Linked DNA regions of Homo sapiens: all the other regions are linked to region 2. Evidence: promoter capture Hi-C in 16 types of primary human blood cells and fetal thymus (Javierre and others, 2016). All regions are on one chromosome and are shown on one strand. Each heading gives the region's core, a stretch centred on a gene start or on the middle of the fragment in contact. The rest is flanking DNA. Distances are from core to core; before and after follow the strand shown.

What was found. The method cuts DNA at HindIII sites, captures the fragments that hold promoters and counts their contacts. A CHiCAGO score of 5 or more calls a contact.
Region 1: a fragment that was not itself captured here is called in contact with the fragment with the promoter of MMP2 in region 2 in 6 of 17 cell types (M2 macrophages, fetal thymus, M0 macrophages and 3 more); the score reaches 7.1 in M2 macrophages.
Region 3: a fragment that was not itself captured here is called in contact with the fragment with the promoter of MMP2 in region 2 in 4 of 17 cell types (monocytes, M1 macrophages, M2 macrophages and 1 more); the score reaches 6.4 in monocytes.

Annotation. Positions count from the first base shown.
Region 1 is chr16:55,719,174-55,723,530 of GRCh38, forward strand. LOC105371280 (a long non-coding RNA gene) reads right to left here and starts at 2,663. Exons shown (of 3, transcript XR_933605.1): 1 at 2,512-2,663. The HindIII fragment of the contact is 449 bases long and covers 1,258-1,706 here.
Region 2 is chr16:55,477,261-55,481,542 of GRCh38, forward strand. MMP2 (matrix metallopeptidase 2) reads left to right here and starts at 1,938. Exons shown (of 13, transcript NM_004530.6): 1 at 1,938-2,372. The coding sequence starts at 2,220. The HindIII fragment of the contact is 12,132 bases long and covers 1-4,282 here.
Region 3 is chr16:55,640,383-55,645,131 of GRCh38, forward strand. No RefSeq gene overlaps it. Among named protein-coding and RNA genes, the nearest start is that of SLC6A2, 13 kb to the right of the region's middle. RefSeq lists a silencer at 2,895-3,189. The HindIII fragment of the contact is 1,369 bases long and covers 775-2,143 here.

The sequences.
Region 1 (4,357 bases), core at 232-2,731, 240 kb after region 2:
TATAACATCAAAAATATTTTGATATTATGCCATCCTGTGAAACCAAGGGCAAGAATTTAGCCACAAATAAAGACCCTGAACAGAACCTTGACCTTCTGAAAACACCCAGAAGCCAACTGACAATACTCAACTTACACCACAGTAAAATGAACACAAACCCTCCCAGATGAGAAAGAATCGGTGCAAGAACTCTGGCAACTCAAAAAGCCAGAGTGTCCCCTTACCTCCAAATGAGTCCACTAGATTTCCAGGAATGGCTCTTAACCAGACTGAAATGACAGGCATAGAACTCAGAATGCAGATGGCAAGAAAGCTCATCAAGATTTAGGAGAAAGTTGAAACCTAACCCAAGGAATCCAGTAAAACAATCCAAGACCTGAAAGACAAAATAGCCGTTTTAACAAAGAACCAAACTGAACTTCCAGAGCTAAAAAATTCACTACAATAATTCTATAATATAATTAAAAGTATTATCAACAGAATAGACCAAGATGAGGAAAGAATCTCAGAGCTCAAAGGCCAGTACTTCACATCGACACAGTCAGACGAAAGTTAAAAAAATTTTATTTTCAAGAGAATTAAATCGTTTATTGATTACACGTGATAATGGATGATACACAAGCTTCATTCCCATCTATAATTTTATCTGGTACCATTATTCAATTTAGATATATTGCATAGGATGTGCCAACAATCACTTTTATAACCATTCCATGATTTTGCTTGGGTAATCCCTTTTAATGGTGAACTTCAGGTCACAACAGTAACTATCAGTTCAACTACACCAAGGTTTCCAAAGACAATGGCTTCTCCACCCAAGCAGGTTGTATATAAATTCCAAATAGAACCTGGCATCACCCTGAAGGAATTCTAACTTCACACTGTTGGGGAAATTTACCAAGATGGCTTCAGAGTAGACTAACTTTACACAGCACATTAAAAAAAAAGACATTTATTCAGCATCACGATCAGACTATTACATTTAGCAATCAACAGCATGGGTGCAAAAAAAAAATCTACATTAAAACCCTTTGTTGGAATGCTTTACACTTTCCACAGAACAGAAACTAAAATAACCTGTTATACAATTAGTCACAAATACAGTCCTTGAGTTTTTTGCCCATACACATGAGTATTTGTCTAAAACATGTCTTCTTTGTAGCAGCTAGGCCCTGCCACCACTGTGCTTGGCTGAGTTCACAAATCTGTCGTAACCTGTAGCTTCCCTGTCACTTCTCTGGCTCTCCTCTCCTGCTAAGCTTTGTTTCCTAATTAAAATCTTCAATGAACAAAACTTCCAAGAAGTATGTAAAGAGACCAAATCTGCAATTCATTGGCATTCCTGAGAGAAAAAAAGAGAATAAGCAACCTTGCAAAATATATGTGGGGATATAGTCCATGAAAGTTTCTCTAATCTCACTAGAGAGGTTAACATGCAAATTCGGGAAATACAGAGAACTCGCTAGATGCTATACAACATGACCATCCTCAAGGAACATAGTCATCAGATTCACGAACATCAACCCAAAAGAAAAAATCTTAAAGGCAGCTAGAGAGAAGGGTCAAGTCACATACAGAGAGAACCCCATCAGGCTAGCAGCAGACCTATCAGCAGAAATCTTACACCTCAGAAGATATTGGGGGTCTATTTTTAGTGTCCTTAAAGGAAAGAAATTTCAACCAAGAATTCATATTCCTTCAAACTAAGCTTCATAAGTGAAGTAGAAATAAAATCCTTCTCAGATAAGCAAATGCTGAGGGACATTGTTTCAACTAAACCAGCCTTACAAGAGGTCATTAAGGGAGTGCTAAACATGGAATCAAAAGAGTGATACTTGTTACCACAAAAACACACTAAGAATATAGCCCGCAGGTACTATAAAGCAACTACACAACCAAGTCTACATAACAACAAGCTAGCAACACAGTCACAGGCTCAAAATCTCATATACCTATTCTAACCCTGAATGTAAATGGGCTAAATGCCTCCACTTAAAAGATATAGAGTGGCAAGCCAGATAAAAAGACAAGACCCAACCATCTGCTGTCTTCAAGAGACTCATCTCACATGTAATGACACCCACAGGTTCAAAGTAAAGGGATGGAGAAATATCTACCATGCAAATGGAAAACTAAAAAGAACCAGTCACTATTTTTATGTCAGATAAAATAGATGTTAAACCGATTTCTATTAAGAAGGACAAAGAAGGGTATTACGTTATGCTAAAATGTACACTTCAACAAGAAAAATTAACTATCCTAAATATATACACACCCAACATTGGAGCACCCCAATTCATGAAACAATTCTTCTTGGACTACAAAAAGACTTAGATAACCACACAATAAGAGTGGGAGTCTTCAACATTCCACTGACAGCATTAGACAGATCATTGAGGCAGAAAACAAACGAAGAAACTCTAGACTTAAACTTGACTCTTGGCCAGTTAGACCTAATAGACATCTATAGAACACTCCACCAAACAATGGCAGAACAAATACTCTTCTCACCTGCACACAGAGTTCCGCTGTTGTCGTCCAGGCTGGAGTGCAATGGTGCGATCTTGGCTCACTGCAACCTCCGCTTCCCAGGTTCAAGTGATTCTTCTGCCTCAGCCTCCTGAGTATCTCTGGGATTATGACACCCATCATCACGGCTGGCTAATTTTGTTTTTTTGTTTGTTTGTTTGTTTGTTTGTTGTTGTTGTTGTTTGTATTTTTACTAGAGACCGGGTTTCACCACACTGGCCAGGCTGGTCTCAAACTCCTGACCTCAAAAGATCTGCCTGCCTTGGTCTCCCAAAGTGCTGGGATTACAGGTATGAGCCACCACACCTGACCACACAGAACATATTCTAAGATTAACTACACGCTCAGTCATAAAGCAAGTGTTAAAATTTTTTTTGTAAAGTTGAAATCATACCAAGCACACTCTCGGAACACAGTGCAATAAACATAAAAATATTATCAAGAACATCTCTCAAAACTGCATAAATACATGGAAATTAAACAACTTACTCCTGAATAACTCCTGGGTGAATATCAAATTTAAGGCATAAATCAAAAAATTCTTTGAAATTATTGAAAATAGGGATGCAACTTACCAAAATCTCTGGGATGCAGCTAAAGCAGTGTTAAGAGGAAAGTTTAGAGCATGAAATGCCTTCATCAAGAAGTTAGAAAGATCTCAAATTAACAATGTAAGTTTGCACCTAAAGGAACTAGAAAAAGAGAACAAACCAACCCCAAAGCTAGCAAAAGAAAACTAAAATTAGAGAAGAATTTGACACTGAGTTGCAAAAATCCATACAAATGATCAATAAAACTACAAGTTGGTTATTAGTAAAAATAAACCAGATCAATAGGCCCCTAACTAGATTAACAAAATCAAAGAAGATCCAAATAAGCACAATCAGAAATGACAAAAATGATGTTACACCTGATCCCACAGAAATATAAAAGATCCTCAGATAATATTATGAATAACTCTATGTGCACAAATTAGAAAATCTGGAGAAAATAAATAAATTCCTGGAAATAATCTCCTAAGATTGAATCAGGAAGAGATTGAAATCCTGAAGAGACTAATATGGAACTCTGAAATTGAATCAGTTACAACAACAACAAAAAAACCCTACCAATCAAAAAAAGTCCTGGATCAGATTAATTCACAGCCAAATTCTACCACATGTACAAAGAAGAACTGAGACCAATTCTACTGAAACTATTCCAAGAAAATCCAAGAGGAGGGACTCCTCTCTAACTCATTCTATGAAGCCAGCATCAGCCTAATGCCAAAATCTGGAAGAGTCACAATGAAAAAAAAAAACTTCTGGCTAATATCCCTGATGAACATAGACACAAAAATCCTCAACAAAATACCAGGAAACCAAATGCAGCGGCACATCAAAATGTTAATAAACGATGATCAAGTAGGCTTCATCCCTGAGATGCAATAATTGGTTCAACAAGTACAAATCAATAAATGTGATTCACCACATAAACAGAATTTAAAGCAAAAACAATATGTTCATCTCAATAGACAAAGAAAGAATTTCTTATAAAATCTGACATCCTTTCATGTTAAAAACCCTCAACAGACTCAGCATTAAAGGAGCACATCTCAAAACAATAAAAGCCATCTATGACAAACCCACAGCCAACATCATACTGAATGGGCAAATCTGGAAGCATTCCCCTTGAGATATGGAACAAGACATAAATGCCAACTCTCACCACTCCTATTAAACATAGCCCTGGAAGTCCTAACTAGAGCAATCAGGCAAGAAAAAGAAATAAAAGGCATCTAAACAGGAAAAGAAGAAGTCAAACTATCTTCACTGACAATATAATTCTA
Region 2 (4,282 bases), core at 688-3,187:
GTTTGCAGCCCCTGCTTTAGTGAGATAACTTTTTCCATTTTCACTCTCAGCTCTCAGCTCTCCAACTTGGCTCTCTGGCTATCCACAGGACGTGGACATGAGCCCAGTGGGGCTGGGCCAGGAGGCAATCCCCCTTCCCAACTGACCTCAGTCTCGCCCTCTCCAAAACAGCCAAGGTTTGTCACTGGGTCAGGCTGAAGGGCCTGGCTCCCTCCTGCGGGGCAAGGTCCCTCCCAAGAGGGTCCTTTAAAACTGACTCTGGAAAGTCAGAGCACACACCCACCAGACAAGCCTGAACTTGTCTGAAGCCCACTGAGACCCAAGCCGCAGAGACTTTTCTAGCTGTGATGATCAAGACATAATCGTGACCTCCAATGCCCCCCACAAGTATATTGCTCCTGATTCTTTCAGCCCCTGACCTTACTTCTCAAACTGTTCCCTGCTGACCCCCAGTCCTATCTGCCCCCTTCCTAGGCTGGTCCTTACTGACCCCTCCAGCTCCATCCCCTCACCCTGTGCCCCACCTTTTTCAGATAGAAAAAACTTTCTTCTCCAGTGCCTCTTGCTGTTTTTCATCTCTGGGCCATTGTCAATGTTCCCTAAAACATTCCCCATATTCCCCACCCAGCACTCCACCTCTTTAGCTCTTCAGGTCTCAGCTCAGAAGTCACTTCTTCCAGGAAGCCTTCCTTGATTGTCTTTACTAGTTTAGGGGCTGAAGTCAGGCGTTCCCAACAGCCTGCTGGAGTTCCCCATCACAGCTTATCTCTCAACTGTCTTTCCTGAGAGAGGGAGAAGACATTCCTCAGAGACGGTTGTCACAGGGAGAACTTCAAAATTGGGATTCGACCTGAGAGGCCACATGGATTCTTGGCTTGGCGCAGGAAAGGATTCAAGAGTGAGTGGGGAATTCGTGGAACTGAGGGCTCCTCCCCTTTTTAGACCATATAGGGTAAACCTCCCCACATTGCCATGGCATTTATAAACTGCCATGGCACTGGTGGGTGCTTCCTTTAACATGCTAATGCATTATAATTAGCGTAAAATGAGCAGTGAGGATGACCAGAGGTCGCTTTCTTTGCCATCTTGGTTTTGGCTGGCTTCTTCACTGCATACTGTTTTATCAGTGGGGTCTTTGTGACCTCTATCTTATTAAACCAGTCTTGCCCAATTTCTATCTCATCCTGTGACCGAGAATGCGGACCCTCCTGGGAGTGCAGCCCAGCAGGTCTCAGCCTCATTTTACCCAGCCCCCTGTTCAAGATGGAGTCGCTCTGGTTCCAACGTCTCTAACGCGGGGCCCCTGACTGCTCTATTTCCCAAGGTGTATCTAGCATCTCGCACTATACGAGGCCAAGTTAAGGCTTACACATTTGCAGAAGGAAAGAGGTAAGGAAGCAACCTGGGACCTTCCACTGTCTCTGTTTCCATCTCTCTCTTTCCATCTCTGTTCATCCCAGAATCTCTCTGTCCCTATCCCTAAATATCGAAAATTTCTGTCTCTGACCATCTATCATTGTGGCTGATCATCTGTTTCTGACCATTCCTTCCCGTTCCTGACCCCAGGGAGTGCAGGGTGTCCTAGCCAAGCCGGCGTCCCTCCTAGTAGTACCGCTGCTCTCTAACCTCAGGACGTCAAGGGCCTAGAGCGACAGATGTTTCCCAGCAGGGGGTTCTGAGGCTGTGCGCCCAGATCGCGAGAGAGGCAAGTGGGGTGACGAGGTCGTGCACTGAGGGTGGACGTAGAGGCCAGGAGTAGCAGGCGGCCGGGGAAAAGAGGTGGAGAAAGGAAAAAAGAGGAGAAAAGTGGAGGAGGGCGAGTAGGGGGGTGGGGCAGAGAGGGGCGGGCCCGAGTGCGCCCCCCGCCCCCAGCCCCGCTCTGCCAGCTCCCTCCCAGCCCAGCCGGCTACATCTGGCGGCTGCCCTCCCTTGTTTCCGCTGCATCCAGACTTCCTCAGGCGGTGGCTGGAGGCTGCGCATCTGGGGCTTTAAACATACAAAGGGATTGCCAGGACCTGCGGCGGCGGCGGCGGCGGCGGGGGCTGGGGCGCGGGGGCCGGACCATGAGCCGCTGAGCCGGGCAAACCCCAGGCCACCGAGCCAGCGGACCCTCGGAGCGCAGCCCTGCGCCGCGGAGCAGGCTCCAACCAGGCGGCGAGGCGGCCACACGCACCGAGCCAGCGACCCCCGGGCGACGCGCGGGGCCAGGGAGCGCTACGATGGAGGCGCTAATGGCCCGGGGCGCGCTCACGGGTCCCCTGAGGGCGCTCTGTCTCCTGGGCTGCCTGCTGAGCCACGCCGCCGCCGCGCCGTCGCCCATCATCAAGTTCCCCGGCGATGTCGCCCCCAAAACGGACAAAGAGTTGGCAGTGGTGAGTTGCTGCGCTGGCCTCAAGGAACCACGTTTAGACAAACTTCGGAGGCAAAGGATGGGGGTGTCTCTCCCCCTGCCCTCGGCGGTGGGCACACAGCGTGGGGGAGGGGCTTCGGTAAACAGCTTGGGGGGTCTTTGGCAAGCTATTGGAGTGATCTCTTGCAAACGGTGGGGGATCTTTTGTAAGCAAAGAAAACCTTTGATAAACAATTTGGCAACCTTCAGCATACAGCAGTGGGGCGAAAAACAAGCCAGAGAGTGGGAGAGGGGTGACCTGGCAAACTACTGGAAAGGGACTCTTATGTAAATAGCGGGGACATCCTCTAGTATCTGGGACATTTGGCGGGGGGGGGGGGCGGTCTTTGTAAACAACTTTTGGACACATCTGGGCAGTTGCTAAGGGCTCTTGCCAAGCGTCTAGGTAAGCCTTTGGCAAACAGCTACAGGGGTCGTTTTTGCTAATGTAGGACTTTGGGAACGGTGCTCTGGCACACAATTTGGGTAAACTTATGCGCGCATAAGGATGGGAGGGAGCTTGGTCAAAGCGGGGCTTGGCAAATTTCTAGGAACCTTCGGCACAGATCCGGAGAGGGACCTTTAAACAAACAGCTCGAGGGGGCCATTTGGGAAGTGATTGGGGCAGGAGGGAAGCAGAGAGCGCATCTTTTTTCTCCTGGCTTAATGGACAAATTGGTCAAGGGCTGGGCCTCGGAAAGTTTCCTCGAACTTCTCCAAAGGGTCGGAGAAAAGAAGGAGAGAGCTGGCCCGGCAGGAGGGAGGAGGAGTGGGGCAGGCGCTGGAGGGCCCGGCGCGTGGGGCGGGGGCGGACTGCGCTCCGCTCGGGTCGGAGAGCGGCCAGAGAGCCCTCCTTCCTGGCTGGGCTCCCAAACCGCGGTTCAGATGTTGTCTTGTGAGCGTGCGCGCGCCTGGCTGGAGGGGCACTGAGCCTGGCCGCAGTGTTGCGTAAGTAGGGCCTGAGGAGAGAGGCAGGCCAGGGACCCATCAAGATGTCCTTTCCAGTCCAGGGGATATCTGCTCCCTTGTTGCTTCAGCCACCCTGCCCTCCAGCCTCCCCCTCAACCTGTCCGGGAGAAGACGCCCATGCCCTCTGGTCACCCTAGGAACTCCTTCAGGAGGTGACAACTACCCTCTCCCAACTCTCACCCTTCCAAACAGCTAGGTCTCAGCCCCCTCTGGATAGATGGGTTGGGAAACCTCCATACATTTTTAGAGGGCTACTTTTTTCAAGGATCTGGAGCTGGCTGGCATAATGATGTGGCTGTTGGGTGGGGGTGAGAGTGGAGCTTTGGGACAATGACAAAGCTACTTGGTTTCCTACACCTTTTCCAGCCAATGGGTCACAGGATGAACCCCTAAATTGGGGTTCAGCCTGGGGGCCACATGGGTTCTTGGCTTGCACAGGAAGGAATTCAAGAGCGAGCCAACAGAGTAAAGTGAAAACAAATTTATTAAGAAGGTAAAGGAATAAAAGGGTGATTATTCCATAGACAGAGCAGGGAATGGGCTGCTGGACTGAGTATACATATGGTTATTTCTTGATTATATGCTAAACAAGGGGTGGATTATTTAAGAGTTTTCCAGAAAAAGGGTGGGGAGTTCCTGGAACCGAGGGTTTCTCTCCCTTTTAGACCATATAGGGTAACTTCTCAATGTTGCTATGGCATTTATAAACTGTCACAGCGCTGGTGGGAGTGTCTAATGTATTTAACATGCTAATACATTATAATTAGCATATAATGAGCAGTGAGGACGACTAGAGGTCACTTTCATTGCAGTCTTGGTTTGGGTGGGCTTTCTCCAGCTTCTTTACTGCATCCTGTTTTATCATAGGGGTCTTTGTGACCCGAACTGTATATGGTGAAATCAGTCCTACCAACCTCCTGTCTC
Region 3 (4,749 bases), core at 209-2,708, 160 kb after region 2:
AGATGAGGTTGCATGGACCTTAGGCATTGCAGACCACAAGACTCCTATGGATGGAAATAAAAGCAGCTACAGCCACCAGCAGAGAAATCTCTTCTTGTTTGTTTGTTTGTTTGTTTTGTTTTGTTTTGAGACAGAGTTTCATTTTTGTTGCCCAGGCTGGGGTGCAAAGGCATGGTCTTGGCTCACTGCAACCTCTTCCTCCTGGGTTCAAGCGATTCTCCTGTCTCAGCCTCCCAAGTAGCTGGGATTACAGGCACCCGCCACCATGCCTGGCTAATTTTTTTGTATTTTTAGTAGAGATGGGGTTTCACCATGTTGGCCAGGCTGGTCTCGAACTCCTGACCTCAGATGATCCACTCACCATGGTCTCCCAAAGTGCTGGGATAGAGAAATCTCTTCTAAGCAAGAGAGTTGTGCACACAGCACTGGACAATTTGCCGGGTGGGGCATGAGCTGGCTAAGGCATTGGGAAGGGGCTGGTGAGGATGGTGGTCAGAGGCGCCTGGCAAACCTCAGATTCTATAACATTCAGACCAGGTCCATTTCCTGCTGATGACCAAGTGGACTCTCAGAAGCCATCAGGAGGGTGCTCGGCTCATCAGGGGAAAGTCAATTCCCTGGGGCTTTCACTTATAACTTTGTTTGCAGATAGCAAGCCTTTTCCGCCCGGCTTCTCATCCTGAGCCTTTCTGCCTGTAACAATCACATTATTTAATTTAGATGAGTGAAGTTACCCTAGATCAATTATACTTATTTTTCCTGTGTAATTTCCAAAGCTTAATATCTCCATTCGGGCCCAGCCTGGGGGACAGGTTGTCTAGCAGAGTCCTAAACGATTTCAGCCTTTAATTCAATTGTACTTTTACCATAGCCCAGCAGCGAGCATAATTCTTTTATCCCTAAGATGTCTCATTAGCAATAATCTAATAGCACATATTAAAATATAGGTCACTGAGGTGGGCTGCCAAGTGGAAGGCTTGTCATAACTTTGAAGGTTGGACAGCTGCCTTGGTGGGACTTGGTCCCCCAATAACACACCACCCTGACTCTAGGCTTAATTCTAAAATGATCAATAAAACACAACAAAAACAGCTTACTTTCTGCAGTTCAAGGTTAAGAACCGACGTTGGCTAGGAAATAGAGCTGTGGGGTAGGGTAAGGCAGAGGGGAATGTTCTTGCCAACATGACGTAGTAGGAAAGATCTCCGACCTCAGGAACTTGGGCTGGAACCTCATCCCAGTTGTGCCGTGAACATGCAGACTGACCTGCAGTACAGCTGTTATGGCCCTTGACCTTGGTGTGCACACCTGTAAAAGGGGAAGATACTGGGCTTAAAGCCAATGTTTCCTGAATTCTGGCACTCCCTGATCAACTTGTCCTAGTATGCATTTGATGTTTTCCTTTAAATCAACTCATTCTTCTTAATTAAACACATTTGTTTTAAAAAGGAAGCTCAAGTATCAACATGGAAAAACCTCAAGAATATTTGCAGGAGGATTCATGCGGAATAAGGCCAACTGTATAAACTTTAAACATGCACAAAAGTGATGCGTAAAAATGGTTTAGACAGGCAAAATAAATCTAGGGGGTTCAAGGTCCAGATAGCAGTTACCTTTGGGGAGGAGGGAGATGTTGACAGGGAGGGGCAACCAGGGGGACTCCTCAGATTCTGGTCATTTTTTTAATGGCCTGGATGTAGTTTCATGAGCGTTTTTACTATGTAAAAAGTGCAGTTATAATTACTTCAATTTTCTGTGTGTTAAGCCTCATACAAATATATATATGTTTTATATATAAAAATTTATATATATGTTTTCATATATAGTTTATATGTATAAAATTTTAGGAATATACGCAACATTTTAGGTATATGTAAATGTACGTGTGTAATTTTAAGTAATAATATATACATATCGTGTATACATAGGTACATATGCAGTATATGTATATATTGAGTATGTGTGCATGTGTGTATATAGTATGTATATTGATTATTCTTAATAATATATATTTATATTTAATAATAAATACATATTGTTATATAATTATGCATTATATGTATGTATACCATACATTTAATATGTGCTATTAGGTATGTATTATGTATGTATTTAGTGAGGATTATTCCCAAATGTGTATCTAAGCTTTCACTATCTGGCACCTATGAACACTAGAGAGCAGGTATCTAGTGAGAGCAGAAATACTCTATAGTGACAGTGTAGATACATGCTTGGGAATTATCCACATTTTTTAAGTTAACAGTAAGAAATAATGAAAGAAATTTTATACTGTCATCATGTAATAAATAAAAAACCAAAATCACATGCCATAAATAGATAACTAAAAATAAAGCAACGAAAAGAAAGCACTGATAGGAGATTCTAGTTTCATGCGGTTTGGGCCTGAAAGTTCTGACCCAAAGCCTGGCTTCCTTCTGTTGAACTGGGGATTAGTAAGTTAGAGTCATTACAGACACATGAACACCAGATTGAGACTCACTCCTTCCGTAATCAGGGCTAAAAAAGCATGAAAAGCAGTGGAACTTTCTCCCTCTGTGATTCAAAGTAATTCAAATCAGGGCCTGCATAGCCCTGAGCCATTGCCCCTTTTCCTTGGGGCTGTACTTCTCTACTTCAGGAGAGATCTGCAAGGTCCCTCCAAGCTCCAACTATCCTAGCTTCTAAGGGATGCGGGCATGGCGAAAGGTCTTGTTACAGGTGGGCTGGAGGATAGGGAGAAAAAAATGGGAGAGACGCTATTAGCAAAATTGGAAAATTTTGAAACAAAGCCCCATTCCTTTCTCCAGCTCCCCGGACTGGTTCTCACAAAGCCTGAGCCAGAGGCAGGGGTGGGCAGGCACACACTCCTTGGAGGGCAGCCCCCAGCCTTCCCAGACACAGCCGTTCCACCTGCCTCCTGGGCTACACTGAGCTGGAGCCTGACTCCTTGAAGTGCGTGTTTGTGGCTCTGGGCCTGCTCTTGGGCCACACGGAATATATGTGCAGCACCCCCTGGTGACTGCATGTCCACTCCTGAGGCCAGCAGGTCTGTCCCTCAGTCTTCTCCTAAGGCCTAAGTCTCTCCACCAACTGCCTGACCTGACTCTCCCCAGGACATGCACTTCAGCTTTAGCTTCATGGCCCACATCCACACGTGGGCAGTGTAGACCAGCTGCCAGTCCCCTTACAAGAGAACTGCGTGTGCTGGAGGGCTCAGTGAGGATTCCTGTGGCCCTTGGAACAGGCAGGGTGGCCTCATGATGACCTCTCCCCACCTTTGTTATCACCAAGGATCCTTCCCAGCCTGGATCCTCCCCTCACTGCTGCCCCAACCTGGACCCCCAAGTCTTCCCAGCCTCCTCATCAAAACCTATCTTTCGTGCACCTCCTTCCTTCAGAGTGATGCCAGGGCAATGTTCAACTATCTGCTCTGAGAAATGTTCCAAAGAGAGGACGTAGGTGTGGGAAGACCCTGGGACCACGTGTCGGAGCCGGTTCTGATCTCTTGCTCTGCTACTACCCTGTGTAATTTTGGGAGTGGAAGTGAGGCAGGGAGGTACAAAGTGGGGCAAAGAAGTGGAGGGTTCTTCTGCCAGCTACCTGGGAGGAAGGGCAAACCTCATGACACACAGCATTGAGGGGAGACTGGCAGTGGATGCTGAAGACCTGGAAGATGCGCAGGACAAAGGCAAAGGGGGCAGAGAAGAAAAATAGAAGAGAAACAAAATGGGCCTTGGGGCAGATCCCAGAACTGGTGGGAGGGGTGGATCTAAGGGCTTGAGGTGGGAGGTGAGCCTTGAAGAGGGAAGGACTCTAGCTCCTTGAGGGGAAAGGGCCAGAGGAGATGGTGGCTGACAAACCACAATGTCTGGGTTCAGAAATGCATCAGCCATGGCCTCAAGTTTCCCAGCCAAAAAGAGTGAGCAGCCCTACTGAGAATAGGGAGCTCGAGCAGAGAGATGGAGTGAGGCAAATGAGGCCCAAACTGGCAACCGCTGAGCCATGGAGATAGAACAGGGGTGAAGAGCGTAAGCCCTGGAGCCTGCCAGGATCTGGGCTCAAACCCTACCCTCTGTCCCTCTCTAGCCATGAAGTCCAGGACAGGACGTCTAACCACTTTCAGCATGGTCTTCAATCTGTAAAATGAGAATAATGATTGTCTTGTATGAAATGATACTTAGCATAGTGCCCACACCCAGTTTGCTAAGTGAATAGAACTGCCAAGTGTATAGCAAATGTCTATCGTGTTTATAGTACGTGCTAATCACTGCTGATGCACTTTGCAGTCGCTGATGCATTTAAGCCCTCCAACTCCCCCAACAGATAGATACTATCATAAGCCCAATTTTATTATCATTATTATTATTGCCCAGGCTGGAGTGCAGTGGCATGATCATGCCTCACTGCAGCCTTGACCTCCTAGGCTCAAGCGATCCTCTCATGTCAGCCTTCCTGAGTAGCTGGTACTATAGGTGTGCACCACCACGCCCGGCTAATTTTTGTAATTTTTGTATTTTTTTTGTAGAGTCAGGGTCTTGCCACGTTGCTTAGGCTGGTCTCAAACTTCTGGGCCCAGGCAATCCACCTGCCTCGGCCTCCCAAAGTGCTGGGATTACAGGCGAGAACTACCACACCCGGCCCTAAGACCCATTTTATAAGTGAGAAAACTGAGCCACGCATCAGCTCGAGGTAGCAAAGCTTGTAAGTGAAAGTCAGGATTTGAACTCCCAGGCAGTACAGAAGTTGAGT